Regions from separate parts of the Homo sapiens genome. Here regions 1, 2, 3, 4, 5 and 7 are each linked to region 6. Evidence: promoter capture Hi-C in 16 types of primary human blood cells and fetal thymus (Javierre and others, 2016). All regions are on one chromosome and are shown on one strand. The core of a region is centred on a gene start or on the middle of the fragment in contact, and the rest is flanking DNA. Distances in the headings are between cores, read along the strand shown. Region 1 has its middle 14 kb from the start of MIR4448. Region 2 overlaps MAP6D1 (MAP6 domain containing 1). Region 3 overlaps PARL (presenilin associated rhomboid like). Region 4 overlaps PARL (presenilin associated rhomboid like). Region 5 overlaps ABCC5 (ATP binding cassette subfamily C member 5). Region 6 holds the start of CAMK2N2 (calcium/calmodulin dependent protein kinase II inhibitor 2). Region 7 overlaps ABCC5 (ATP binding cassette subfamily C member 5).

Evidence for each region. The method cuts DNA at HindIII sites, captures the fragments that hold promoters and counts their contacts. A CHiCAGO score of 5 or more calls a contact.
Region 1: a fragment that was not itself captured here is called in contact with the fragment with the promoter of CAMK2N2 in region 6 in 17 of 17 cell types (M1 macrophages, M2 macrophages, M0 macrophages and 14 more); the score reaches 27.4 in M1 macrophages.
Region 2: a contact is called between a fragment that was not itself captured here and the fragment with the promoter of CAMK2N2 in region 6, in 1 of 17 cell types (M0 macrophages). The highest score is 6.4, in M0 macrophages.
Region 3: a contact is called between a fragment that was not itself captured here and the fragment with the promoter of CAMK2N2 in region 6, in 4 of 17 cell types (M1 macrophages, erythroblasts, megakaryocytes and 1 more). The highest score is 6.6, in M1 macrophages.
Region 4: a contact is called between a fragment that was not itself captured here and the fragment with the promoter of CAMK2N2 in region 6, in 1 of 17 cell types (endothelial precursors). The highest score is 5.3, in endothelial precursors.
Region 5: a contact is called between a fragment that was not itself captured here and the fragment with the promoter of CAMK2N2 in region 6, in 5 of 17 cell types (M1 macrophages, M0 macrophages, M2 macrophages and 2 more). The highest score is 8.0, in M1 macrophages.
Region 7: a fragment that was not itself captured here is called in contact with the fragment with the promoter of CAMK2N2 in region 6 in 6 of 17 cell types (M1 macrophages, M0 macrophages, M2 macrophages and 3 more); the score reaches 13.0 in M1 macrophages.

What each region holds. Positions count from the first base shown.
Region 1 is chr3:183,899,077-183,903,089 of GRCh38, forward strand. It overlaps the pseudogene CYP2AB1P. Among named protein-coding and RNA genes, the nearest start is that of MIR4448, 14 kb to the left of the region's middle. The HindIII fragment of the contact is 4,315 bases long and covers 1-3,568 here.
Region 2 is chr3:183,812,670-183,816,147 of GRCh38, forward strand. MAP6D1 (MAP6 domain containing 1) reads right to left here. Exons shown (of 3, transcript NM_024871.4): 3 at 3,253-3,478. Among named protein-coding and RNA genes, the nearest start is that of YEATS2-AS1, 4.0 kb to the left of the region's middle. The HindIII fragment of the contact is 3,273 bases long and covers 410-3,478 here.
Region 3 is chr3:183,832,126-183,836,168 of GRCh38, forward strand. It overlaps PARL (presenilin associated rhomboid like), which reads right to left. Exons shown (of 10, transcript NM_018622.7): 8 at 1,599-1,700; 9 at 1,367-1,464. Among named protein-coding and RNA genes, the nearest start is that of MAP6D1, 8.6 kb to the left of the region's middle. The HindIII fragment of the contact is 651 bases long and covers 1,832-2,482 here.
Region 4 is chr3:183,857,892-183,861,411 of GRCh38, forward strand. The region is part of intron 4 of PARL (presenilin associated rhomboid like); the gene reads right to left. Among named protein-coding and RNA genes, the nearest start is that of PARL, 25 kb to the right of the region's middle. The HindIII fragment of the contact is 1,571 bases long and covers 541-2,111 here.
Region 5 is chr3:183,938,296-183,941,961 of GRCh38, forward strand. The region is part of intron 25 of ABCC5 (ATP binding cassette subfamily C member 5); the gene reads right to left. Among named protein-coding and RNA genes, the nearest start is that of MIR4448, 53 kb to the left of the region's middle. The HindIII fragment of the contact is 7,094 bases long and covers 1-3,666 here.
Region 6 is chr3:184,260,137-184,263,655 of GRCh38, forward strand. CAMK2N2 (calcium/calmodulin dependent protein kinase II inhibitor 2) reads right to left here and starts at 1,417. Exons shown (of 2, transcript NM_033259.3): 1 at 981-1,417; 2 at 1-91. The coding sequence starts at 1,149. The coding sequence ends at 21. All of the region lies in intron 2 of EEF1AKMT4-ECE2 (EEF1AKMT4-ECE2 readthrough), which reads left to right. RefSeq lists enhancers at 1-71, 72-623, 2,509-3,271. The HindIII fragment of the contact is 12,942 bases long and covers 1-3,519 here.
Region 7 is chr3:183,918,611-183,922,369 of GRCh38, forward strand. ABCC5 (ATP binding cassette subfamily C member 5) reads right to left here. Exons shown (of 30, transcript NM_005688.4): 30 at 1,324-2,791. The coding sequence ends at 2,690. Among named protein-coding and RNA genes, the nearest start is that of MIR4448, 34 kb to the left of the region's middle. The HindIII fragment of the contact is 1,722 bases long and covers 684-2,405 here.

The sequences.
Region 1 (4,013 bases), core at 161-2,660, 360 kb before region 6:
AAACCCCGTCTTTACTACAAATTAAAAAAAAAATAAAAATAATAAAAATTAGCTGGACGTGGTGGCACGTGCCTGTAATACCAGCTACTTGGGAGGATGAGGTGGGAGAATTGCTTGAGCCCCGGAGGTGGAGGCTGCAGTGAGCTGAGATCACACCACTGTACTCCAGGGCAGTACTCGGGGCAGAGCCAAAGCTCCTTTCCGAGGAAAGTCTCAGGGCTCCCGCCACCACCTCTATGTACAGAGGCATCACCCTGCACCAGGGCACCAAGATGAGTCGCTCTGTTTCATTTTCATTAAAATGGCAACCTCACCACCTACACATGTTGGTATGTTACCTGTTGCGGGAAGTCAGGGACCCCGAACGGAGGGACTGGCTGAAGCCATGGCAGAAGAACCTGGATTGTGAAGATTTCACGGACATTTATTAGTTCCCCAAATTAATACTTTTATAATTTCTTATGCCTGTCTTTACTGCAATCTCTAAACATAAATTGTAAAGATTTCATGGACACTTATCACTTCCCCAGTCAATACCCTTGTGATTTCCTATGCCTGTCTTTACTTTAATCTCTTAATCCTGTCAGCTGAGGAGGATGTATGTTGCCTCAGAACCTTGTGATAATTGCATTAACTGCACAAATTGTAGAGCATGTCTGTTTAAATGATATGAAATCTGGGCACCTTGAAAAAAGAACAGGATAACAGCAATTGTTCAGGGAATACGAGAGATAACCTTAAACTCTGACCACCGATGAGCCGGGTGGAACAGAGCCATATTTCTCTTCTTTCAAAAGCAAATGGGAGAAATATCACTGAATTCTTTTTCTCAGCAAGGAAGATCCCTGGGAAAGAGAATACGCGCCTGGGGGTATAGGCCTATAAACGGCCCCCCTAGGTGTGCCTGTCTCTTATGGTCGAGGCTATAGGGGTGAAATAGACCCCAGTCTCCCATAGCACTCCCAGGCTTATTAGGAAGAGGAAATTCCCGCCTAATAAATTTTTGGTCAGACCAGTTGCTCTCAAAACCCTGTCTCCTGATAAGATGTTATCAATGACCATGGTGCCCGAAACTTCATTAGCAATTTTAATTTTGCCCCAGTCCTGTGGTCCTGTGATCTTGCCCTGCCTCCACTTGCCTTGTGATATTCCATTACCTTGTAAAGTACTTGATGTCTGTGACCCACACCTATTTGCACATTCCCTCCCCTTTTGAAAATCCCTAATAAAAACTTGCTGGTTTTTGCGGCTTGTGGGGCATCACGGAACCCACCGACACGTGATGTCTCCCCCAGACGCCCAGCTTTAAAATTTCTCTCTTTTGTACTCGTCCCTTTATTTCTCAAGCTGGCCGACGCTTAGGAAAAACAGAAAAGAACCTACGTGACTATCGGGACAGATTCCCCGATAGTTACCCCAGTTAGCCTTGACTCCCAGGATACACACCTTTGTGTAATCCCCTCCCCTTGAGGATAGGATGGATTTAGTAACTCACTTCTAACAAATAGAAAATGGGCCAGACGCAGTGGCTCATGCATGGAATCCCAGCACTCTGGAAGGCCAAGGTGGGAGGATCACTTGAGCCCAGGAATTTGAGACCAACCTAGGCAACATGGTGAAACCCCATCTCTACCAAAAATTTAAAAATTAGCCCATTGTGGTGGCACAATGTGGTGCCTGTAGTTCCAGCTACTCAGGCAGCTGAGGTGGGAGGATCACCCAAGCCTGGGAGGTTGAGGCTGCAGTGAGCTATTATTGTGTCCCTTCACTCCAACCCAGGCAACAGAGGGAGACACTGTCTCAAACCAACAACAACAACAACAACAAACCCAACAAATAGAATATGGCAAAAGCGGCCGGGTGCGGTGGCTCACACCCGTAATCCCAGCACCTTGGTAGGCTGAGGCAGGCCAATCACTCGAGGTCAGGAGTTCAAGACCAGCCTGGCCAACATGGTAAACTCCATCTCTACTAAAATATACAAAAATTAGCCAGGCATGGTGGCACATGCCTGTAATCACAGCTACTCGGGAGGCTGAGGCAGGAGAATTGCTTGAGCCCAGGAGGCAGAGGCTGCACTGAGCTGAGATTGCACCACTGCACTCCAGCCTGGGGTGACAGAGCGAGATTCTGTCTCAAAAAAAAAGAATATGGCAAAAGCAATGGGATATCACATCTAAGATTAGGTTACAAAAAGACCATTGCTTCTATTTTGGGTGCCCTCTTGCTTGCTCTCTCTGATGGGGTTCAGCTGCCATGTTTTGAGCTACCCTATGCAGAGGCCCATGTGTCAAGGAACTGAAGGTCTCCAGCCAACAGTTCATGAGCAACCGGGTCCTGAAGACCTCCATGTAAGTGAGCTTGAAGTGGAGCCTCCCCTAGGGGAGTCTTCAGGTGACACTGTAGCCCCAACAACAACTTGATGGTAACCTCATGAGAGACCTTGAGTCAGAGGCATCCAGCTGAGCCACACCCATTTTCCTAACCCTCAGAAACTGTGAAATGATAAATGCTGTTGTTCTAAGCCACTAAGTTTTGGGGTAATTTGTTACACAGTAAGATAGGTAAGTAATTCAACATCTGTCATCTAGGATCTGCAAGGCTCCGTCAACAATACAGAGCACCATTGTACCGAATGACACCGTGGGCACAAAGCCCTCAGCACACAGCAAGCCTGGGCAAAGAGCAGGTGTCCTCATGTTATTGTCCAGCTCACGTCAAAAATCTGCTCGGAAAGCTATCTCAAGCTGGATCACCAGAGAGCTATCATCTTCAACTATGCTCGAGACCAACCTGGGCAACATGGTGAAACTGCATCTCTGCAAAAAAACAAAGCAACAACAACAACAAAAACAACGAAAATTAGCCAGGCATGGGGGCTCATGCCTGTAGTCCTAGCTACTCGGGAGGGTGAGGTGGGAAGATCGATTGAGCTGGGAGATAGAGGCTGTGGTGAGCCGTGATCGTGCCAATGCACTCTAGCCTGGGTGACAGAGCAAGACTCTGTCTCAAAAATAAATAAATATTGGCCGGACGCGGTGGCTCATGCCTGTAATCCCAGCACTTTGGGAGGCTGAGGCAGGCAGATCACTTGAGGTCAGGAGTTCTAGACGAGCCTGGCCAACATGGTGAAACCCTATCTCTACTAAAAAATACAAAAATTAGCCGGGCATGGTGGCACACACCTGTCATCCCAGCTACTCGGGAGACTGAGGCAGAATAGCTTGAACCTGGGAGGCAGAGGCTGCAGTGAGCCAAGATTGAGCCACTGCACTCCAGCCTAGGTGACAGAGCAAGACTCCATCTCAAAAAAAAAAAAGAATAGAGGTTAAAAATAAATAATTATTTATATAAACTTCAACTGTGTTATTTTGGCTGACTGTAGGAATGAAAGGAATTTTATCTCTTAAAAGGAATTGAGATAAGAAGCAGCTGCCATCTTGAAGAATATTTCTGCATCTTTTAAAAACTCCTGCTTAAATCACTGCCACTACATGGTCCACTGGCCCACAAAAGAATATTGTGAATGATGATCCTTGTCATAACTTACAGGCATGTGATAAGCCAAAGCTTTCCTGATACAGGCATGCTTCCTTTTATTACATAATAACTCATAATTAATCGAGATTTCCTTTTTTCCCTTCACTCCAATGAAATTCAGACTCGAGTTTTATGTACATATGTGGCAACTGTTCTTGATTTGACTTATTTTTATAACTTTCTTCCTCTCTCCTTATTTGGCACTTGTTTTCTTAACCTTGCTATAAAATGAAAGAAGCAAGCAAGGCATTTCTGCTAGAAACCAGTTTTAAGGAGATAATACAAAATGCAGACCAAGCCTAAGGCACATAAATTGCAAATGGCCTAAATGTTCACCAACAAGGGTTAAAATTGCAAAACATCCATTTGGTGGAACATTATGCAGCCATTAAGAATGATGTAGATGCCCAGTGTGGTGGCTCACACCTGCAATCCCAGCACTTTGGGAGGCCTAGGCGGGCGATCACCCGAGG
Region 2 (3,478 bases), core at 796-3,295, 450 kb before region 6:
CCTGCACTGGGATGAGGTGATGGTGTAGAGTCTTATTGATATGTTTAAATTAATTCCTCTACTTCTTGCCAAAAAAAAAAAAATGTTGCAACCGTATAAGATAAAGGATTACAGTTACATAAAAGTCTAAAAAAAATTTGGAAATGGACATAATTATTCCTGACAGCTTGGGGCAAAAGAAAACTGCATAAATGAGCTCAGAGCTTCCTTAAAGCCAAGGCAGAGAGAGAATCAGCTCCTCGTGTCTAACAAAGAAACATACCGGGTTATCTGGCAGGGTAAAATTGGACTGTGTTGAGGACTGAAACAAGTCACTCCTGTGACACGGTCCTTATGCTGTGACCATCTGCTAGCATATGGCTCAGAAATAGTGAAAAATCCAGAAACGTAAGAGCTGAAAGATTTTGAAAGCTTTGGTTCTTCAAAGGCATTATGATACAGTCCAAGTATGTAACTTTCTGGGGACCAGACTTTGCTGAGAGTCATAATGGAGAGTCAAAGAGTCTGATGGCTGAGAGGGGTGTGCCTAGGCTTGCCTTCATAAATGTTCATTGTCTCAGCCAAGGTTTTGGCAGGAGCGAGAGCAGGCTCAGATCAGTGTCACAGGCAGTACCTTACGTGACTTGGACTCCAAGTTATTGATGGAAGGAGTCCTGTGTGAACGGGGCCAACAGAACTGGCTTTGGGGCTTCATCATCATCTTGACCCTGTTCAAAGGGGAGGTTCTTCCATTTGTCTGGGGTGGGCTGCAGGGCCTAGCTTTTTTCAAAAGCTGCTTTTGGGAACGTGGCCTGAGTCCTGGAGTTCTGTACCATGGAGCACAGAGAGGCGAGACCTTGTTCTAAATGCCTGCAAACCCCCTCGACTTGCGGAAGGATCTTTAGGACTTTCCACCTGCAGAGCGTCATAGTGCAGCCCGTGGCTGCTTGAGGCAGCTCCCGCAGTGGCAGCTTGGGTTGTGAAATAATTAAAAAGTTAACATTTTCTTTTGTCTGGAATTTGCTAACATGTTGAACTGCTTTTTATTTATTTAGAGACAGAGTCTGGGCCGGGCACGGTGGCTCATGCCTGTAATCCCAGCACTTTGGGAGGCCGAGGCAGGCAGATCACAAAGTCAGGAGATCGAGACCATCGTGGCCAACATAGTGAAACCCCGTCTATACTAAAAATATAAAAATTAGCCAGGCGTGGTAGCAGGTGCCTGTAATCCTAGCTACTCAGGAGGCTGAGGCAGGAGAATCGCTTGAACCTGGGAGGCGGAGGTTGCAGTGAGCCGAGATCGTGCCATTGCACTCCATCCAGCCTGGGTGACAAGAACAAGACTCCATTGTCTCAAAAAAAAAAAAAAAAAAAAGAGTCTGCTCTCTCGCCCAGGTTGGAGTGCAGTGGCACGATCTCAGCTCACTGCAACCTCCGCCTCCTGGGTTCAAGTGAGCACGTCTGGCTAATTTTTGTATTTTTAGTAGAGATAGGGTTTCACCATGTTGACCAGGCTGGTCTCAAACTCCTGACCTCAAGTGATCCACCTGCCTTGGCCTTCCAAAGTGCTGGGATTACAGACATGAGCCACCATGCCTGGCTTGCTTTTTATTTTTAAGAACTTTTTCTTTACAGAATTATTATAAAAATGTTTACAGAAACTTTAGCAAGCATAAAAAATGTGTTTGAAAAACTACTCATAATTCCTCCTCTGAAAGATAATCACTGCTAACATCTCTCAGTGCCTTTCTTTCAGTCTTATATGCGTATTATGTATGTGTGTGAGAGATGATTGATAGATAGCTATGAGTTGGGACCACATGGTTGAGACTTGTCTGTCTCAGTTGCTTCTTGGGTCACTTGCTGAACATGTTAGGCCTGATTATTTAGACCTAAGTGAGTGGGAAGGAGTTTCAGCATAACCCACATCTCCTCATAAAGAGGCCAGGCTGGGTGCAGTGGCTTACACCTGCAATCCCAGTGCTTTGTGGAGGCTGAGGCAGGAGGATTGCTTGAGCCCAGGAGTTCAGGACCAGCCTGGGCAACCATAGGGAGACCCTGTTTCTACAAAATGTACAAAAATAAATAAAAAATGGCCGGGTGTGATAGCTCAACGCCTGTAATCCCAGCACTTTGGGAGGCTGAGATGGGAGGATCATCTGAGGTCAGGAGTTCGAGACCAGCCCAGCCAACATGACGCCCCGTCTCTACAAAAATTAGCTGGGCATGGTGGTGGGCGCCTGTAATCCCAGCTACTCGGGAGGCTGAGGTGGGAGAATATCGCTTGAACGTGGGAGGCAGAGGTTGCAGTGAGCCGAGATTGCACCACTGCACTCCAGCCTGGGTGACAGCCAAAAAAAAAAAAGCCAGGCATGGTGGCATGCCCCTGTGGTCCCAACTACTCGAGAGGCTGAGGCGGGAGGATCACTTGAGCCCAGGAGGTTGAGGATGCAGTGAGCAGTGTTCACACCACTGGGTGACAAAGCAAGACCCTGCCTCGATGATGATGCACCCTCAGAGCAACACTGGAGTTGGTGTCTGTGAAAAGCTGTCTGCTGTGCATTGCAGAGGCTCTTGACCATCTGTTTGTTTGTCTTGCAGTCAGGCCTGTCTGGTGTGGTGAGGCCTCCACTGCGGCTGCCCCACCAGCACTGCCAGGAAGGGGCAGGCCCGGTTGGTCCTGGCTGAGCTGCAGCAGAGCTGACCAGCCCATTATAGGAAAAGAACAAACAAGCATCTGGGCGCTGTGCAGGGTGACGTTGGCCAGGGGGGGTGAGGGGCTGGGAGCACACGGCATCAAGCTAGAGGATGCTGGGAGCTGCAGGTGGGAACACAGCTGGCTCCCAGGGAAAGTGAGGAGGGGGGACTAAGGCAGGAAAGAATAATCCTAACACCTGTGCCTCAGTTATTTCCTGTACTGAGCACCCCACCCATAAACACGGATGCTCTTGGCAAGCCACAAGGTGTAGCTGGTAGCGTCGTCACTTCTCAGTGAAGAAACGGAACCCCAGTTGCTCACAGGTAGCAAGTGAAGCTGGGATTAGAGCCTGAGGAGCTTCAGAGAGAGGCGCCTGGGTGAGGGTAGGGGACGGGTGGGTTCTGTGGGCTGCACCTACCACATGTGCTCTGCACCCCACAGCAAGAAGTGCTCAGCATCAACAGGCCTCTGAGGTGTGGCGGCAGCTGCACCACACTGAAGTCCTTAGCACCAAGAGACTGGAGAAAACAAGCGTGAGAAGACTCGTGCTTATAATTTAAGAAACTGAAACTACATTTTTGCATTTTAGTAAAATCTGAGATTGTACAGTTTTTAATCTCATTTCCACAGACACCCAGCAGGCAGCCTCTTTTCTCTTAGAAAAATCAAACATGCAAGCCGTGAAGTCAGGAATAGCTGAACCCCTTGGATAAGCACACGCTTTGGGCTTCTTTAAAGCGAGCCTCTCATCAAGAGCATTTCCTTTGCTGGCATGAGGGGAGGGCTGTGCCTGCCAGGGCT
Region 3 (4,043 bases), core at 907-3,406, 430 kb before region 6:
ACTACTCCTCTTTAATCACTTAAAATTATAAATGGCATAATGGCATTTAGTTCTGCCACCTACTGGGAAAAACTGCTTCACTTAGAATAGATTTTTCTTTTTTTTTTTTTTGAGACAGAGTCTCACTTTGTCGCCCAGGCTGGAGTGCAGTGGCGTGATCTCGGCTCACTGCAAGCTCTGCCTTCTGGGTTCACACCATTCTCCTGCCTCAGCCTCCCGAGTAGCTGGGACTACAGGCGCCCGCCACCACGCCCGGCTAAGTTTTTTGTATTTTTAGTAGAGACGGGGTTTCACTGTGTTAGCCAGGATGGTCTCGATCTCCTGACCTTGTGATCCGCCTGCCTTGGCCTCCCAAAGTGCTGGGATTACAGGCGTGAGCCACTGCACCTGGCCAGAATAGATTTTTCTTTTTAATAAAAAAAAAAATTAAGTTTTCCATTGTCGCGGAACAAAATAAAAACCAAGTAAGGGCAAAAGGCAACATTTATGTAAGAAAAGACAGGCCCCGAGGGGATCCAGCTCATGCTGACGGGTCTCCCACGATCAGATGGACGCCAAGAGTCCTGACCGTGTTTCCGTGATACAGTTACTACTAAGCACTAGTCTAGGCAAAACCCCATTGTTTGAAGCACACGTGGAAGGTCTTGTAACCACAATGCCATTTGCTGTGACCCAAGGAAGCAGTTTAGCAACCAATTCCATATGGTGTGGTGGGGGTGGAAAGGGCTTATAGAGGTGGGTTTACAGCTCTGCTCTGCTATTGAAGAGCTGTTTGGCCTGGGGAAGATGATGTCTGAGCCTCAGTTTCCCATCAGTAAAATGGGAGTAGTAATAGTATAACATAAGGGAACTAGCTTGGTGCCTGCATACAGCGGGTACTCAGTAAGTGGTCCACATTGGTTTGCAGTCACCGGCCTCTACTCCAGTCATACAGAGCAATGGCTCCGCCAACTCAGCATGTCTAAATAGCACTGGCGAGACAGAGGTCAGGGTAGCAGGGTGGGACGCCAGGCAGGGGAGAGGAGGGCAGGAAAGTCTGAAGGGGAAAAAGAAGATGTCAGCATAGACTGGGGGCCAGGCTGCAGTCTTCTAAGAGGGGGCTGGGAATAACAGGCCAACAGTTGGGGCAACTTAAGGTTAAGCGTAGGGTAAAGGCACAGACTGTCTCTACAATGAGCCAGGTATGCTGGGTAAACCCAAAGCAAGCCACGTTGAGGTTTCCTCACCCTCCCAAGCCCACCTGCTTCTGCTTCCGTTGCATAGTTCAATGTCTCTGCCATGGGGATGGGGGGTAGGGGTGAGGCTGGGGTAGGAGGAGCGCATGACCCAAGGAAGCAGTTTAGCAATCAATTACACTCAAACTTACATTCCAAAAAGAGCTCCCCCAAGATGTGCCGCATGATCAAAAAATTTCCATCCCAGGATCATTCCTGCTGTATCCATGGCGATAATGGCTTTCAGGGCCTGAAAGGCAGCAAGAAACAAGCGGCACAACTGTGATTGCTCCAGCACTGACATTTCTAACTTAAGGGCAAGAACCCACTCAACATAAAAACATCACCACTATCCCCAGCACTGCACTTCATAAAAATACTTACATTCCCTGCTGTGAACGTGAACATCGGAAGGAAAATAATGGCAAGCCTCCCTTCTGGGATCTTAGTGCAGACAGCTGCGAGGACTGTCATGATGGCACCAGACTGCAAAGTAACACAGCAGGGAGAATGGGAAACTCAATATGCAACTGCTTAGTGGCTACAAGGTCTAAAGAGCAGCACATTTTCTAGAAAGTTTACATGCTGCACATTTCTAGGTGAGCACAAAGCTTCAAAGCTTTCAGTTACTTATGTCCCCAATAATAGGTGAAGGAACTAAATGTCCTTCACACAGTAATCGCTTGGAAAGACTGAATTTTTACTACGGGGCAGTAAGATGTATGTGCCTCATGAACCGCAAGGACAGTGCTAAGCGTGTCATGCGCATCTTTCACCTATGGCCTAGGAAAGAACTGCTCACACTTCTCTGACAAAGCTCCAACCAGAGGGAGTGGGCATGAATACGCCCAAAGAAACCTGCATGCATGAAGCATGTTTCATCTTAAAAAATTCATGTGAAATCTTTATTCATCTTCATAAAGAAACAAAACATTGCCAGTGTGGTGGCTCACGCCTGTAATTCCAGCACAGTGTGAGGCATGAGGATCCCTTAAGCCCAGGAGGTCAAGGTTACAGTGAGCTATGATTGCACCACTGCACTCCTGCCTGGGCAACAGAGTAAGACCCTGTCTCAAAAATAATAAAGGAATAAACTGATACACAGAACATGGATGAGTCTCAAAGTAATTATACAGAGTAAATGAGGCCAGGACAACAAATACTAGTATATGCTGTATGGTTCCATTTGCAAACTAATTTATCTTTAGTAGAAGTAGGTAAGTTGTCGCCAGGGGTAGAGGAGGGGCAGGAAGGAGTGACCACTAGGAAGCTTTTGGGATGAATATGTCCATGATCTTGAGTGTGGTGATGGTTTCACGGGTGTCTACATGTCAAAGCTTACCAAACTTTAAATATGTGCAGTTTTTTGCATGTTAACTAGTAAACCTGAGTTGCCTGCTTTTTAAAAAGACTACATGGGGCTGGGTGCAGTGGCTCTCGCCTATAATCCCAGCACTTTTGGAGGCCGAGGCAGGTGGATCACCTGAGGTCAGGAGTTTGAGACCAGCCTGACCAACGTGGTAAAACCCCGTCTCTACTAAAAATACAAAAAAAAAAAAAAAAAAAAAAATTAGCTGGGCGTGGTGGCGGATGCTTATAATCCCACCTACTTAGGATGCTAAGGCCCGAGAATTGCTTGAACCCGGGAGGCAGAGGTTGCAGTGAGCCGAGATTGTCCCACTGCACTCCAGCCTGGGTAAAACAGCGAGACTCTGTCTCAAAACAAAACAAAACAAACAAACAAAAAAGACTTTATGGGAGTCCTCTGTACTATTTCCTGCAACTTTCCATAAGTTTTTAATTATTTATGAATGAGATGTTTAAAAAAAAAAAAAAGACACCTAAGAGCAAAATAACTTTTGAAAGAAGCCCCTATCATTAAAAAGAAAGGTTCCTACCTTTTCATATAAAAACGGTTGTTTCTGGAAAATAGCATCTACCTCTCTTAATCAATGTTTTCTTAATGTCTTCTATGTGACGGGTTGCTTCAGAATACAAGATTATCTTACATTTGGGGAATTACTAAAACTTTAAAGAAAATTATTATGAGTCCCAGAGATCTCAGATGTCCCCAGTCCCTCATATAACTGCCAAGTGGCCTCAACAGGGAAACAAGCTCGGGTTGCATTCTTAGAAGTCAGGGTAACTGCAAGATGGAAGGACAGCATGAACACTCCTCAAAAGGAGGACCCAAGAAGACCTGAATTTTGACCAAGCTGGCTTCTGTGCAAGAGACTATAATTGTAGCCGGGCACGGTGGCTCACGCCTGTAATCCCAGCACTCTGAGGGGCCGAGGCAGGTGGATCACCTGAGGTCAGGAGTTCAAGACCAGCCTAGCCAACATAGTGAAACCCCGTCTCTACTAAAAACACAAAAATTAGCCAGACGTGGTGGTGGGCGCCTGTAGTCCCAGCTACTCGGAAGGCTGAGGTTGTGGTGAGCCAAGATTGAGCCACTGTACTCCAGCCTGGGCGACAGAGTGACACTTTATCTCAAAAAAACCCCAAAACAAATCAAAATTACACGTTTCCCCAAAATGAAGCAAATATAATTTGATTAGTTGATATGAAAGAGCATTAAAATTCTATGAAGTTCTGCCAGGCACAGTCGCTTACACCTGTAATCCCAGGACTTTGGGAGGCTGAGGCGGGCAGATCACCTGAGGTCTGGAGTTCGAGACCAGCCTGACCAACATGAAGAAACCCAGTCTCTGCTAAAAATACAAAATTAGCTGGGCATGGTCGTGCATGCCTGTAATCCCAGCTACTCAGGAGGTTGAGGCAGGAGAATTGCTTGAACCCGGGAGGCAGAGGTTGTAGCGAGCCGAG
Region 4 (3,520 bases), core at 76-2,575, 400 kb before region 6:
TCTAGAAAAGTGAAAAGGACATAATAAAAACCCTATTCTTTGATACATGAAGTGGATTTGATTCCCGAATCCACCCAGTTCTAGCTGTGTGATCGCAGTTACTTGGCCGTTCCTTGCCCCATCTGAGAAATGAGGATAACAGGGTTCTTATGATGACTAATAATAATAGAAATGCATGTAAAGCACATAGCATGATACTTGAAGTGTGGTTGGCACTCAAGGATTAACTTTGCTATTCTTCTACAAAAATAACTTGTTTGCAGACTGGGAAGTCAGGAGTTACAGAAAAACAGTGACTGATTCTGATTAAAAGGTAAAGATGGGCTATAAGACCAAGGAAAACATTGCCTTACCAGCAACATCAGGAATAGGTAAGGAGGCCTTAGTCTGGGAAGACAGCTCAAAACCTTGAAAAGGTACAAGGAGAGAGAGAACTGAAATGAAAAAGAATAAGCCTGGCAGAAACAGAACAGCAAAGAAAAAAGAATAGACTTTAGAAGTTGGGGCAAGGGGTCAAAGACTGGAGAGTAGTAGTGACTAAGCTTTGGAGCTGACAAAAAATACACTAGTAGAGGAACTACGGCACAGTTTTCTTGCGATCTCTCTCCCTATCCTTTTCTGTCCTTGCTCCTTCTTGATCAAAAATAATAATTTAGCTGATTTTTTCCTGTGGCTTTACCTGAATCTCAATACAGTAAAGTCAGCATTCTCTTGAACTAACAGGAAAACCTGGCAAGTGCCTCAAAGACAACCCTGAAAGCTAGAAAGGGAGGAGAAAATATTCTCTCTGGGGGTTGCCTGGGGACCTCTAGGAGAGGCTTAAAAGGCTGACAGATCAGGGCAATAGAACAGAAAATTAGGTGAAATATAAAAGCACCAGGGATGACAAATTTAAGTTTGAAGAATGCCACGTTATACTCCCCGCTTGCCCCACAAATACCTAGTGGGCTTATAAACACTTTTTCAGAGCAATATGAAGCCTGGGGAGATTATTTCTGTGTAATAAAAATTAAGACCAAAAAAAAAATCCCCAAACAAACCAAAAAAAAAGGATTAAAACAAGTTTCCTAGCATAGCTTTAAAAAGGGATTTGCACAGACAGATTGAGACAGAACAGTCAAAAACTACAGACTCGCCGGGCGCGGTGGCTCACGCCTGTAATCCCAGCACTTTGGGAGGCCGAGGCGGTGGATCACGAGGTCAGAAGATCTAGACCATCCTGGCTAACGCGGTGAAACCCCGTCTCTACTAAAAATACAAAAAAATTAGCCGGGCACTTATAGGCTGAGGAAGGAGAATGGCGTGAACCCAGGAGGCAGAGCTTGCCCGTGAGCAGAGATCACGCCACTGCACTCCAGCCTGGGTGACAGAGCAAGACTCCATCTCAAAACAAAAACAAAAACAAAACTACAGACTCCAAACCTGGCATCAGCTGTAAGAAGGGGAGGTTTTTGTTGTTGTTTTGAGACAGAGTCTCACTCTACTGCCCAGGCTGGAGGGCAATGGCATGATCTCGGCTCACTGCAACCTCTGCCTCCCAAGTTCAAGCGATTCTCCTGCCTCAGCCTCCCAAGTAGCTGGGATTATAGGCATGCACCACCACGTCCAGCTAATTTTGTATTTTTAGTAGAGATGGGGTTTCACCATGTTGGCCAGGCTGGTCTCCAACTCCTGACCTCAGGTGATCCACCTCCCAAAAGTGCTCCCAAAGTGCTGGGATTACAGGCATGAGCCACTGCACCCAGCTAGAAAGGGGTTTTTTACCTCACCACCAGATGCCACCTTAACAATAAAATAAATTATGGGTATGCCTTACAATCTGACTGTTCTTACCTATACCTAGGAACCAAAGAGACATGGATAAATTTGAGATACCCCTCATTCTCTGAAACTCAGAAACTATGTATATTTGGATTAACACTTTACTGTCTGAACTTACCGTATCCAAAATCTTTCCATCCAAATTCAAGAGCTCAACAGATTCAATGGCAAGGAATACTTACATGAAGTGTTTGGTGTAGCAGTGAGAAATCTTTAACCGACTAGAGCTTTCATGCTGCCATTGTCTAGGTATGAATACTACAAAGCAGAGAGGCACACTGGTCTCACAAAGCTTTAAAAACTCTCTAGGTCAAACTTGTCAAGTTCTTTCAAAATATAAAACGAAAAAAAAAAAAACCCATTCGGAAAACATCTCCAATCCAAAGAAAGAAAGTGGGACGGAGTAGACCTGTCACCCCATAAATCTATCACTGATTAAAACCAGAAGCTGAGCCAACTTCACTTTGCAGTCTACAAGAAGCAATCAGGAGTGCTCAGCAAGGAAAGCTGGACTAATTGGCACCCCAGGAAGAAGACAAGACATACTAAATAAACAGTTTATTCTTGAGACTCTCATATATAGGTAATTGATTAAGCACCACTTACAGACATTGTAAAGCTAGAATCACTATTACTAGAATAATTATTTCCTACAAGAAAAGTCTGAGGTGACACAAGACAGTTCAAATGGCATTTCCTGAGGTTAAAGTCACTTGGATAATCTAACAATAAAGATTTAAGACCTGCAGCATGACCATTCACATTTATGTTGTTCAAAGCAGCTTACATTCAAGTTGCAAGACAGATCACAAGCATCTCTCTCTACTGCTACGCTCTTCATGCCAAATGGCTGATTTGATTTCAAAAAAGAAAAAGACTAGGGGGAAAGAATTCTGATTTTTAATTACCTCTAGCTTCTTTGAAGAAAGTATTCACCAGCATGAGAAAAGGTTTTAAACTCTGATGCTAGGCTTCTTCATATGTTAAATGGCATAAAATCATGACCACCTTCAAAGAATGTGAGGTATAAACTAATAGTGAAATGCTTTGAAAATAGTGAAGGCAAAACCTTGCCACCCTAAAGAAATCTTAATTTCGTTACTTTTTTTTTTTTTTTTTTTGAGACAGAGTCTCGCTCTGTCGTCCAGGCTGGAGTGCAGTGGCGCAATCTTAGCTCACTGCAACCTCAGCCTTCCAGGTTCAAGCAATTCTGCTTCAGCCTCCCTAGTAGCTGGGATTAACAGGCGTGCACCACCACGCCTAAGCTAATTTTTTGTATTTTTAGTAGAGATGGGGTTTCACCGTGTTGGCCAGGCTGGTCTCTGACTCCTGACCTCAGGTGATCTGCCCGCCTCGGCCTCCCAAAGTGCTGGGATTACAGGCGTAAGCCACTGCACCCAGCCTCATTACTTTCATAAAAGAAGCAAGCAAACAAAATACATTAATCTAGTGGAAACAGATGTGCTACTAAAGAGCTATCTTTGAAGTAATCATTTTAAGATGTCACTGACCTATCAATTCTATGGTCTTAGTTATGGCAACACTGAAAAATCTCAATCCCTTGGTTAAGATTCCATTCAACATTCATTCACTCAACAGATTTTAACTGAGTGCCCTTACTGTGTACATGATATATGCTAGGTGCTGTCACAAAATGAAAGATGTCATTGTTGTCCTCCAGATGCTTATACTGCCCTCA
Region 5 (3,666 bases), core at 900-3,399, 320 kb before region 6:
TCCATTTTCATTTTTTTTTTTGAGACGGAGTCTCACTCTGCTGCCCAGGCTGGAGTGCGGTGGTGCGATCTCGGCTCACTGCAACCTCTGCCTCCTGGGTTCAAGTGATTCTTCTGCCTCAGCCTCTCAAGTAGCTGGAACTACAGGCACGCGTCACCATGCCCAGATAATTTTTGTATTTTTAGTAGAGATGGGGTTTCACCATATTGGCCAGGTTGGTCTCAAACTCCTGATCTCGTGATCCGCCCACCTTGGCCTCCCAAAATGCTGGGATTACAGGCGTGAGCCACCGCGCCTGGCTGACCATTCCATTTTCATGAGAGTAAAATGGAAAAATGCCTCCTGGTCACCTTAGGAACAGGTGCACAGAGCTGAATGCTTCTTAGGCAAAGTTAGGAGAACAGAGATCTTACAGCAAGCAGTTGAGGGGCAAACCAGAGGACAAGATGTCTTTTTTCTCCCTACCCCCTTATTAGGGCTGAGAGAGAGACTAAGACAAGGCCTCCTGTTGCCACAGCAGCAGCTGGGGAATTGAAGAAGTTCCAGGGATAAATAAACACATACGGGAAGGAGGTTTTGCCTCGACTCAATGAGTAGCTGTCAATGGCCCTACTGTGATAGGAAACTATGGCAGAGAAGCAGGTTTGGGGGATCAGTGTTATTACAGTAATCAGCAGAACAGGTTAACCAAATCTTCATTTGAAAAGTTTACATAAGTAATACGAGATGACATCATCAATCTCCCATAATCTCACTTCTATCATTTTAGGCACACTTCCTTTCGGTCTTTCCTCAGAGTTGAGATCATATCAGAAATGCAATATTGTAATTGCTTTTTTCACTTAACACTGCATTGGCCGGGCACGGTGGCTCATGCCTGTAATCCCAGCACTTTGGGAGGCTGAGGCGGGCAGATCACCTGAGGTCAGGAGTTCGAGACCAACCTGGCCAACATGGTGAAACCCTGTCTCTACTATAAATACAAAAATTAGCTGGGCAAGATGGCGAGTGCCTGTAATCCCAGGTACTTGGGAAGCTAAGGCAGGAGAATCACTTGAACCTGGGAGGCGGAGGTTGCAGTGAGCCAAGATCGTATCATTGCACTCCAGCCTGGGCGACAGAACGAGACTCTGTTTCAAACAAAACAAAACAAAAGCATTGTATAACACTCAGTCAACCATCTTTTAAAAAAATTTTCAAGATAAAATTTTAGTGGTTGCATTCCATCATGTGCATGTATTCTTGTTCAGCCAGCCCTCTAAGGGTCAACATTTAGTTTATGTAAAACTTATAATAATGTTATGTCCTATTATCTTAGTGCTGAAACTTTACTGCCACCTCAGACAATTTCCTTGGGAAAGAATCTTAGAACTGAAATTACTGTGTCAAAGGATATAAACATTTAAAAGGTGCTCTCTCTACAGAGCCAAAAAGAAAAGAAGTTTGCCATAGTCCTGTCTACCTTTCTGCAACTTGGTTCCATGGTTTAGATTTAGAACTACAGGGTTTTAGCTGTTGAATCACTTTTCCTTGGCTGTACGCCTGGTTCTTGACCCTCCTACCTTTCTCGTGCCACCATGTCATGAAAGACCTCTTGTGAGGGCCTCATCGAGATCACCACGATGCTGTCTCTTCAGCACTCATGGAGGGCGCAAACAGCCTGCCTTGCCCCAGTGTCTACAGCCACGACCCCACTGTCGGGATCTACCCCCTGGGCATACCTCTGTCTAACAGCCTAATGGGAACCTGAAAAACACCCATAAGACTTGGAAGAAGTAACGCCCAGGAAACTTGGAAAAAGCTGTATTAGGACCCATCTTCCTAATGCAACAATCCTCACATCCTTCTACCAGAAACGAGTTAGGAAACCTGGTCCGTCTAGCAGGATAGTTCTCCTCCTAGAAATGAGTGACTCCAGGCCGGTGGGCGCAGCGGTTCACACCTGTAATCCCAGCACTTTGGGAGGCCAAGGTGGGTGGATTACTTGAGGCCAGGAGTTTGAGACCAGCCTGGCAAACATGGCAAAACCCTGTCTCTACTAAAAAATACAAAAAAAAAAAAAAATTAGCTGGGCATGGTGGCATGTGCCTGTAATCCCAGCTACTCCAGAGCCGAGATTGCACCACTGCACTCTAGCCTGGGCAACAGACTGAGACTCTGTCTCAGGAAAAAAAAAAAAAAAAAAAAAAAAAATGAATGACTCTGTTCAGGGTTGGGGGACTCAGTTACTGGCCCCTTTCCCAGATAGGAGGGGAGGAGACATTCCCTCTGGGCCGAGGCAGGGCTTTAAGATCTAAGCTAAGGAAGGAATGGTGCCCGAAACAATGGGTCAAGTTGTTCCAGTTTAACAAAAGGTGCCTAGGTTTGGACCACCTGGACTGGAAGACTTTAGAGTCCTCTGAATCTGACTACCTTTGCACTGATGGAATGTGCTGGTAAGAAAGGCAGTGAAGTCCTCAAGATGGTGTCCTTGACTGACATGACCACAGGAGAGTTTCCAAGTTACCCGTGAAACTTGGAAGAAGCCCTATTAGAACCGGAGTGTAAATCAGGTTATTATTATTATTATTATTATTATTTGAGATGGAGTTTCGCTCTTGTTGCTCAGGCTGGAGGGCAATAGCGCAATCTCAGCTCACTGCAACCTCCGCCTCCTGGGTTCAAGAGATTCTCCTGCTTCAGCCTCCCGAGTAGCTGGAATTACAGGCATCCACCACCACGCCCAGCTAACTTTCTGTATTTTTAGTAGAGATGAGGTTTCACCATGTTGGCCAGGCTGGTCTTGAACTCCTGACGTCAGGTGATCCACCAGCCTGGGCCTCCCAGAGTGCTGGGATTACAGGCGTGAGCCACTGCACCTGGCCACTATGTTCTTTTTCTTGTTTCTCTTCTGTCACTAACTACTGTTTAATGAAGTTGTGGTGCTTGTTTTGGCCTATCTCACCTGTGTTAAAGGGAAATCATAACAAAGGACATCAGTCAGCTTTCAGGGGAGCAGTGTACCCCTGGGGACGAATGCAGCAGATGGGCTCAAGGGAGAGAACAGTAAAAAGGCTTGGGGAGAGTCACCCTGCTTGGCTAAAGATTCCCTTCCAGCATGAAAGACCTGGAGCAATGTCTTGTTTTGACGTGAAGTAATTCCCTCAAACAGAAAGCAGGAAATGGCTTTTTCCTTTTCTTCCTTAGAAAGTTCTTTAAAATCAATTGGCCAGAAAAGACAAAAGGTTTTTTTTTTTTTAATGGCAAGGAAAAAAGCTAGAAGAGTTTTGATGCCAAAGAAGCATGGAGCCTAGAAAACTAATGAAAACTGAATCAAAGATACCTCTTATACAAGGATAAAAAGGACAGTAAAAGAAGACAAGTTCAGTCTTTGGAATGCAATTCAGGAACGAAAGTGAGAAAAAAGGGGCCGGGTGCGATGGCTCACACCTGTAATCCCAGCACTTTCAGAGGCTGAGGCGGGTGGATCATGAGGTCAGGAAATCGAGACCGTCCTGGCCAACATGGTGAAACCCTGTCTCTACTAAAAATACAAAAAAATTAGCTGGCGCCCCTGTAGTCCCAGCTACGTGAGAGGCTGAGGCAGGAGAATCGCTTGAACCTGGGAGGTGGAGGTTACAGTGAGCTGAGATCGTGCTACTGCACTCCAGCCTGGCAACAGAGTGA
Region 6 (3,519 bases), core at 167-2,666:
CGCCGCCCGAGCCGGCGCGTCTACACTCCGGACGGCGGCTTCTCCCCCATCCCCTTCAGCACGTCGTCTATCCGGTCATCCTCGATCACCACTGCGCAGGGAGAAAGCGCGTCAGCCGCGCGGCCTCGGGGGGCGGCGGCGATGAGAATGAGCCCCGCGTCCTAGCTTCCCGCGCAGCTACTGCCCGTGGCCCAGCGACGCCCCTCGGAACCCTGTGCCGCGGTGTCCTCCCCGTCCGAACTCTTCTGGAGACCCAACCCGCCGCCAAGCCTAGACCCCCTCCCCTCCCGATGGCGGAACGCCCCTCTTCCAAAGGCTCCAGCTATTCTCCCTCCCAGTGCGAGCCCTCCTGCCACCTGAGCCTTCCTCCCTCTGAGTTGATCAGAAACCTCTTGCTCACGGAATCCCCCTCTTCAACCCGCACTTCAACAGATCCCCCTGCTCAAATGGGGCTCAAACCGAGTATCCAGCTGGTCCAGCCCTCTCCTCAACCTGAGCCCTCTCGCCGCTGGAACCCCTCTTCCGATCCTGGCACCAACAGAGCTCCCCTCCCCATGCAAACAACCAAGACAAGCGGACCCCCGGCCTCCTGCCCTCTCTTGTTAGACGTCCCTCTCGACCCGAAGGTTCTTCGTATTGTCCACCGACTCAGTATTTGATCCCAAAGAATCAGCCCGTTACCCCGTGCTCCCACTTCCGTGCAGCCCCAAATGCCCCGACCGGCCCCTCCCCCTCGCCCGGGTGCCAGGGCTCTGCTTCCAGAGGTGGCGAGCATCGAATCCGGGGCACCGTGTTCCCGGGAGAAGGGAAGAGGGGGACACACACTGCAGCGGGGACCCCCCCCTCCAGCCCGGGCTGGAGAGCGGCTGGTGCGCTGGTCTGCGGCAAGAGCTGCGGGCACTCGGCGGGGAACGGCAGCCGGGGGGCGCCCGGCGGAGGGTTTCTGGGTCAGGCGGCGACTCCGGGCCCGGGCCGCGTACCTCGCTTGGCTCGGCCGATCTGGCCCAGCTTGGGGGGTCGCTTGGCCTGGTTGCCCGCGAAGAAGGAGTTGGTGTCCTGCAGGCGGCAGCTGAAGGAGAGGTCGGAGCCCTCGGGGTCTGCGCCGAAGCGGCCCATCTTGTCTTCGCTGTAGGGCAGGATCTCGGACATGGCGGGCGCGGGGTGGGCGCGGGGCGGGAGCGGGACTGCGGCGGGGCGCGGGCGGCGGGCTTGCTGCCGGACCGGCCCTACCTCAGCAGGGGAGCCGGCGGAAGGATGAAGTCATGCAGCATCCGGGGCTGAGGAGCCAAGCGGGGCCTCCTCCCCCGCGCCTCCGCCTCCCGGGCCGCTGGGCAGGCGGCGGCGGCGGCGGTGGCGGGGACCGGGCGGGGGCGGGGGCGGGGGGCGGGGGTGGCGGCGGCGGCGGCAAGAGCGGAATGACGATGAGCGCCCGACTGCGGCAGAGCACGGCGGGCGGGGCGCGGTGGAGGCGGGGCGGGCACTGGCCAGGGGAAAGAGGCGGGGCCGGGGGCAGGAGCGCGCCCAGCTACCCCGGGAACAGAGGCAGCTGGAGTGGGAGGTTCCCGCACTGTGGCGGGGAATGGCCAGCACGTGGGTCTTGGGGAATAGTACCAGCCAACCCGGCCGGGACCTCGCGGGGAGGGGCGGGACCGAAGGGGGGTGGGATCGAGCCTGGTACTGGAGGAGCTTGGAGGAGGGTCTGACCCCTAGGCTGGGAGAGGCGTGCAAGGGGGACTGGGAGCAGGAGGGCAAAAGCTGGCCGGGCGCGTTGGGGCGGGAAGGCGGCCGCAGGGCTGGCAATGGAAAGCGGGGAGCGGGAAATGCGCGGGGAGGAGACTCGGGTACAGGGTGACTGGGGAAGGCACGAACCCACAGCGCGGGAAGAGCTCGGGCCAGTGGGATGGTGCCCTTGCCGCTGACGCGCTCTTGTACTAGTTGCTCTGCTGGTCTTAAGTAGATCGTCAGGGTCCGTGCGCCTCTGAGTGCCGGTCTGTGTCTCTGTCTCCGCCTTTGTGTGTGTCAGTCCATCTCTAAGTGTCTGTATCTCTCTGTCTCTGTGCCCCGTATCTCTTTCGCTGTGTTATGGCCTTTGTCTATGCCTGTCCCTTAAGTGTCTGCCTTTCTCTATCTATCTCCATTCTTGACTCCTGTATCTCTGTGCCAGTGTCTCCGTCTCCTGAATCTGGGTATTTCAGTCTCTCCTAGGAGGGGTCTATAGAAACTGGGCCGACGCGCGCGCACCAGGGCAGACACCCCCAGCCCTAGTCCGGTGGCTGTAGCCCCCCGCGGCTCTGGAGTGGTGCGCTCGCAGTGTAGGAGGAATGAATGGCGGCGTCGCGGGGGGCGCCCTGGGCTGCGGGTGACGCGGGGAAGCTCGGAGCACCTGAGGACGCGGAGCGCGCCAGTGTGTGCCCCGAGGGAGTGCGGTAGAGATGGAGGGTGCCCCCCGCCCTCGTTGCTTTGGACCACGGGTGAGTTCTCGCCTCACCGATGGGAACATGCCCTCTTCTCCCCTTGCCTCCCGCCCCCACAACCCCCGCCCTGGCTGGCCGTCACCCGCGGCGTCACCTGCTTGCCAGCGCGCAGGAGCTCTGGCGCAATCACTGGCCTTGGGGAGGAGGGGGTGTCTCACATGCGGCGACAGTGACGGCAGCGCTGAAAACGGTAATGATCACCCTGTACGTTCATTCCACACTCCAGGCGAACGCGCTTTCCTTCCTTAATCTGGCCAAATTACCAAATCACACAGCTGGTGAGGCTGCCTTGTAGTGGGTCTCCTTCCAACACTTTCTCGCCAGGTGTTAATACCGGAGACACAGGGACAAACGCAATGGTGGCTGCCCAGGGAACTGGATGGGGGGGGCGGTATGCCACAGGATACCTTGATGCCAGCCTCACTCAAGGGCCCAGGCCTGGGGGCCCATCACTATGAAGCCCTCCTCTGCTCTGTCCTAGTCTCCGGGATGAGGGCCACAGCTGGAGGTGGAGGCCCAGCCTGGAGTGAGAGGAGCCCTGAAACTGGAAGGACAATAAAGGCGGAAGACTGGGGTCACTGGAAGAGAGTCCAGAAAATTCCACATACACTGGAAGTTGTCCAGTAATGGGTTCCAATCCTGACTCCCACTTTCTCAGTGACCTTGAACTGAAGGACCCATAATCATGGTTTTAAAAAATTAATTCGTTTGTACTTAAAACATTTTAGGAGGCCGGGCTCAGTGGCTCACGCCTGCAATACCAGCACTTTGGGAGGCCGAGGTGGGTGGATCACCTGAGGTCAGGAGTTTGAGACCAGCCTGATCAACATGGCAAAACCCTGTCTCTACTAAAAATACAAAAAAAATTAGCCAGGTGTGGCACACACCTGCAGTCCCAGCTACTTGGGAGGCTGAGGCACAAGAACCGCTTGACCTAGGGTGGCAAAGGTGGCAGTTGGCGGACATTGGGCCATTGCACTCCAGCCTGGGTGACAAAGCGAGGCGAGACTCCGTCTCAATAAAAGAAAGAGAGAGAGAGAGAGAG
Region 7 (3,759 bases), core at 295-2,794, 340 kb before region 6:
GTTTTCAGGCCTGTTTCATAACACTTTCTGCTCAACATTCTGTGCTCTCTTCTCTGATCAGCACAGTGGATCCAGCAGAGAAGCTCAAATCTAGAGGTTTGCAGGGTGACCAGGAGGGAGGGAGACTGGGTTCCTGAACGCACGGGCAGAACCTTCATTCCACCCCTCCACAGACCACACTGCTTTGCTACAGGAGTTTGGTTACTGTGGTAAACTGCTGAAAGTCTGGGCTTGTTTCTTACACCTGTTAGCCTACTCTACTTGGCAACAGAGAATTATGAGCTGGGAAAGCACAAAATGGCAAAATGGAAATTGCTTTTAAAAATCCAATTTAGGCTGGGCACAGTGACTCATGCCTGTAATCCCAGCAGTTTGAAGGGTCTCGTTCTGCTGACCTTGTTACCTTCTTGGAAGATAAATCTAGTGCCTCAGTAAAAGTGGTTACCGTTTAGATTGGAGCTGCCCAACAGAACTTCCTGCAATGATCGACACGTCCTATATCTGCACTGTACATTACTATGTTGTACAGGTCGCATACAGCTACTGAGCGCTTGAAATGTGACACTCTAGGAACTAAAGTTTTAACTTTAGAGTCAAGCTCCTGGGTTCTCACGACAGCACAGGTACTTTAGAAAAATTAGTATAATTTCTACTGATGGCCAGCAAACTAATACCAGTTTAAAAGCTTTCTTGGCTGCATTCAACACAATATAGTCAGAAACTTTAGAATGAGTACCCTTTGCTTTTTTTTTTTTTTTTTTTTTGAGACGGAGTCTCACTCTGTCGCCCAGGCTGGTGTGCAATGGCACGATCTCAGCTCACCGCAACCTCCACCTCCGAGTTCAAGTGATTCTCCTGCCTCAGCCTCCTGAGTAGCTGGGACTACAGGTGCCTGCCACCACACCAGGCTAATTTTTGTATTTTTAGTAGAGACGGGGTTACTAATTTTCAATGGGTGAATCTGAATGAATTGGCTGAAAGGGTAATTATATTGTTTGAATTGCTAAGAATCCTCGATAAACTATTCATTTTAAATACATCTCACCACGACCACCCACCTCACCACAACCACTCACCTTTCCACTCCCCACCCTCTTATGGGCAGCCAAGGAGCTTTATTTGGGGACCATGTCCAGGAACACAGGCAGCGGGACTAAGGCCCACAGAGATGATTCCAGGTGTTCAGGGCCCCATGGCCCTTGCAACCAACCAGCTTTGCTACCAGTCCTTCCCAGATGCAACTCCATTGCTGGATATGCAGGTCCCAAAGCCATTCAGGGATATCTCACTCCCTTCCCAGAGAATTGTTTGATACACGAAGAGTTTTACAAAATCCAAAATAATTTTATTCACATTTTCAGATTTTTGCTTCCACAAGGTGTTCAGCAAACATGCTAAGGCGACAGAATGTCTAGTTGGTCACGACATGCAACGCTGACCATTCAATTGATGACAGCAGTGACCACGCCCACCTGAGCTACCAGCCCCACAGCACAAAGGGGGTTTGCGGGAACACACCAAACCACACAGCAACCAGCAACCTGAGGTAGGTCTCTTTACAGTACAAAAACTTCTACGCCAGTGTGAGACACTGATTAGCAAGAGCTGCTTAAAGTTGCAGACTTTGAGGGGAGAGAGAGAGAGAGACTGTGCGACGACTGCGGTGAGAAAGGAAAACAGACCCACGAAATCCTGAGCCCTGCCACTGAACTGTGGAGGTGTGGGAATAGGCAAATGAAAAAGTGCCACCTCAAAAAGCAGCAGTTGGCTCCAGGGCTTGGAACCAACAGGTCTTGGAGCTGGAGAGCTCTGTGCAGTGGCCAGCCATAGGAACCTGAGGCAGTGGGACTCTCTGTGGATAGACTGATTCTTGTTTAGAAACAACAGCAAAAAGAAGAAGGCAGGAAAGAAACTCCCCGGCTCGGAGGAATGTCTCTGTGATCCCCATTCTTGATGGAGGGAGTGAAAAGGGGCCTGGGCTTCGCCCCGCTGCTCTCCTGACAGAAACAGTAAGTGACACCAGGACAGAAGGCAGGAGCCCTGAGAACTCACGGCGCTCTGCATGGTCTCCAGCCGCCCACCCGTCTCCAGCCACCCCTGGAGCGGCCGTGGGGAGGCGGCAGAGGGGGCTGTCGGAGGGCCCACTATTGCCACACGTCTTCCTTTGGACACCCAGAAAACCTGGCACCGTGAAACCACCAGCTAGAGAAGAATGAAATGCTACTCTTCCTACAGTCTAATAGCAAAACCAGATCTCTAGTACAGCAAACTGTACAAAAATGATAGAAAGGAATATGCACTGTTATTAGCACAGTGCTTATTTTAATATAAAATAAACAGCTTACATTTTCACTGTAAATATAGGCTATGTACAGAATTATATATAGATATAGCTACACGTATAAAGCTTCATTATAGGCCTCTGATACAATTATAATAACGGTTCCCTGAACCTTTTAGAGTGCAATTAAGAACAAAAACTAAATTTTGTTTACATGAATATGGAATAAATACAATAATCAAAATATGACTCTCCCTAAAAGTGAAACACACAAGCCAATCCGGAACTGCTGTGCGAAAGATAAAATCGAGAAAGGCAAGGTTTCGGTAGGAGGACGCGATGAGGGGCCCGCCCCAGGCAGGGAATGGCAATGCTCTAAAGAAAAGAGACTTCGTCAACAGGGAGGAGTCAGCCCTTGACAGCGACCTTGTTCTCTGCAGCAGCAAACATGGCATAGAATCGGGAACTGTCGTTGGACAGAAGGACCGATGGGGTGTCAAACTCCACCACCTGCAAAAGAAGGAGACGCCGTCAGGACACAGCTCTGGGTCATGCAGGGTGATTCAGAGGATCCACGGCTCAGTAAGTGCCAGTGCCCTCTGAGGGTAGAATCTGGGGACAATTCAACTAGCCCTGCGTGCACCTCCCCCCTTATTTTTTTATTTTCAACTATCCAGGGAGTAAGGGAAAGGACAGAGAAAATGACTTCCAGCATTTTTGTAGTATGTGGTTTTGCCTAATAAAGTAGTATCATAGCAAAAAAAAAAAAAGAAAACGACTTCCAGACCTCCTTCACATAAATCCAAATTCCTTCAGCCTTGGGAGTGAAGGAACCAACCAACCAGGTCTATAAACTGCAGGAGGCTGGTGGCTCACGCCTGTAATCTCAACACTTTGGGAGGCTGAGGTGGGCAGACTGCCTGAGGTGAGGAGTTCAAGACCAGCCTGGCCAACATGGTGAAACCCTGTCTCTACTAAATATACAAAAATTAGCTGGGCATGGTTGGCGGGTGCCTACAATCCCAGTGACTTGGGAGGCTGAGGCAGGAGAATCGCTTGAACCCAGGAGGTGGAGGTTGCAGTGAACTGAGATTGTACCACTGCATGCCAGGCTGGGCGACACAACGAGACTCTGCCTCAAAATAATAAATAAATAAATAAATAAATAAATAAATAAATAAATAAATAAAAAACAACAGGCTGGGTGCGGTGGTTGATGCCTGTAATCCCAGCACTTTGGGAGGTCGAGGCAGGCGGATCACCTGAGGTCAGGAGTTCGAGACCAGCCTGACCAACATGGTGAAACCCTGTCTCTAGTGAAAATACAAAAATTAGCTGGGTGTGGTGGTGCATGCCTGTAATCCCAGCTACTGGGGAGTCTGAGGCAGGAGAATCGCTGGAACCCGGGAGGCGGAGGTTGTGGTGAGCAGAGATCGTGCTATTGCACTCCCAGCCTGGGCAACAAGAGCGAAACTCCG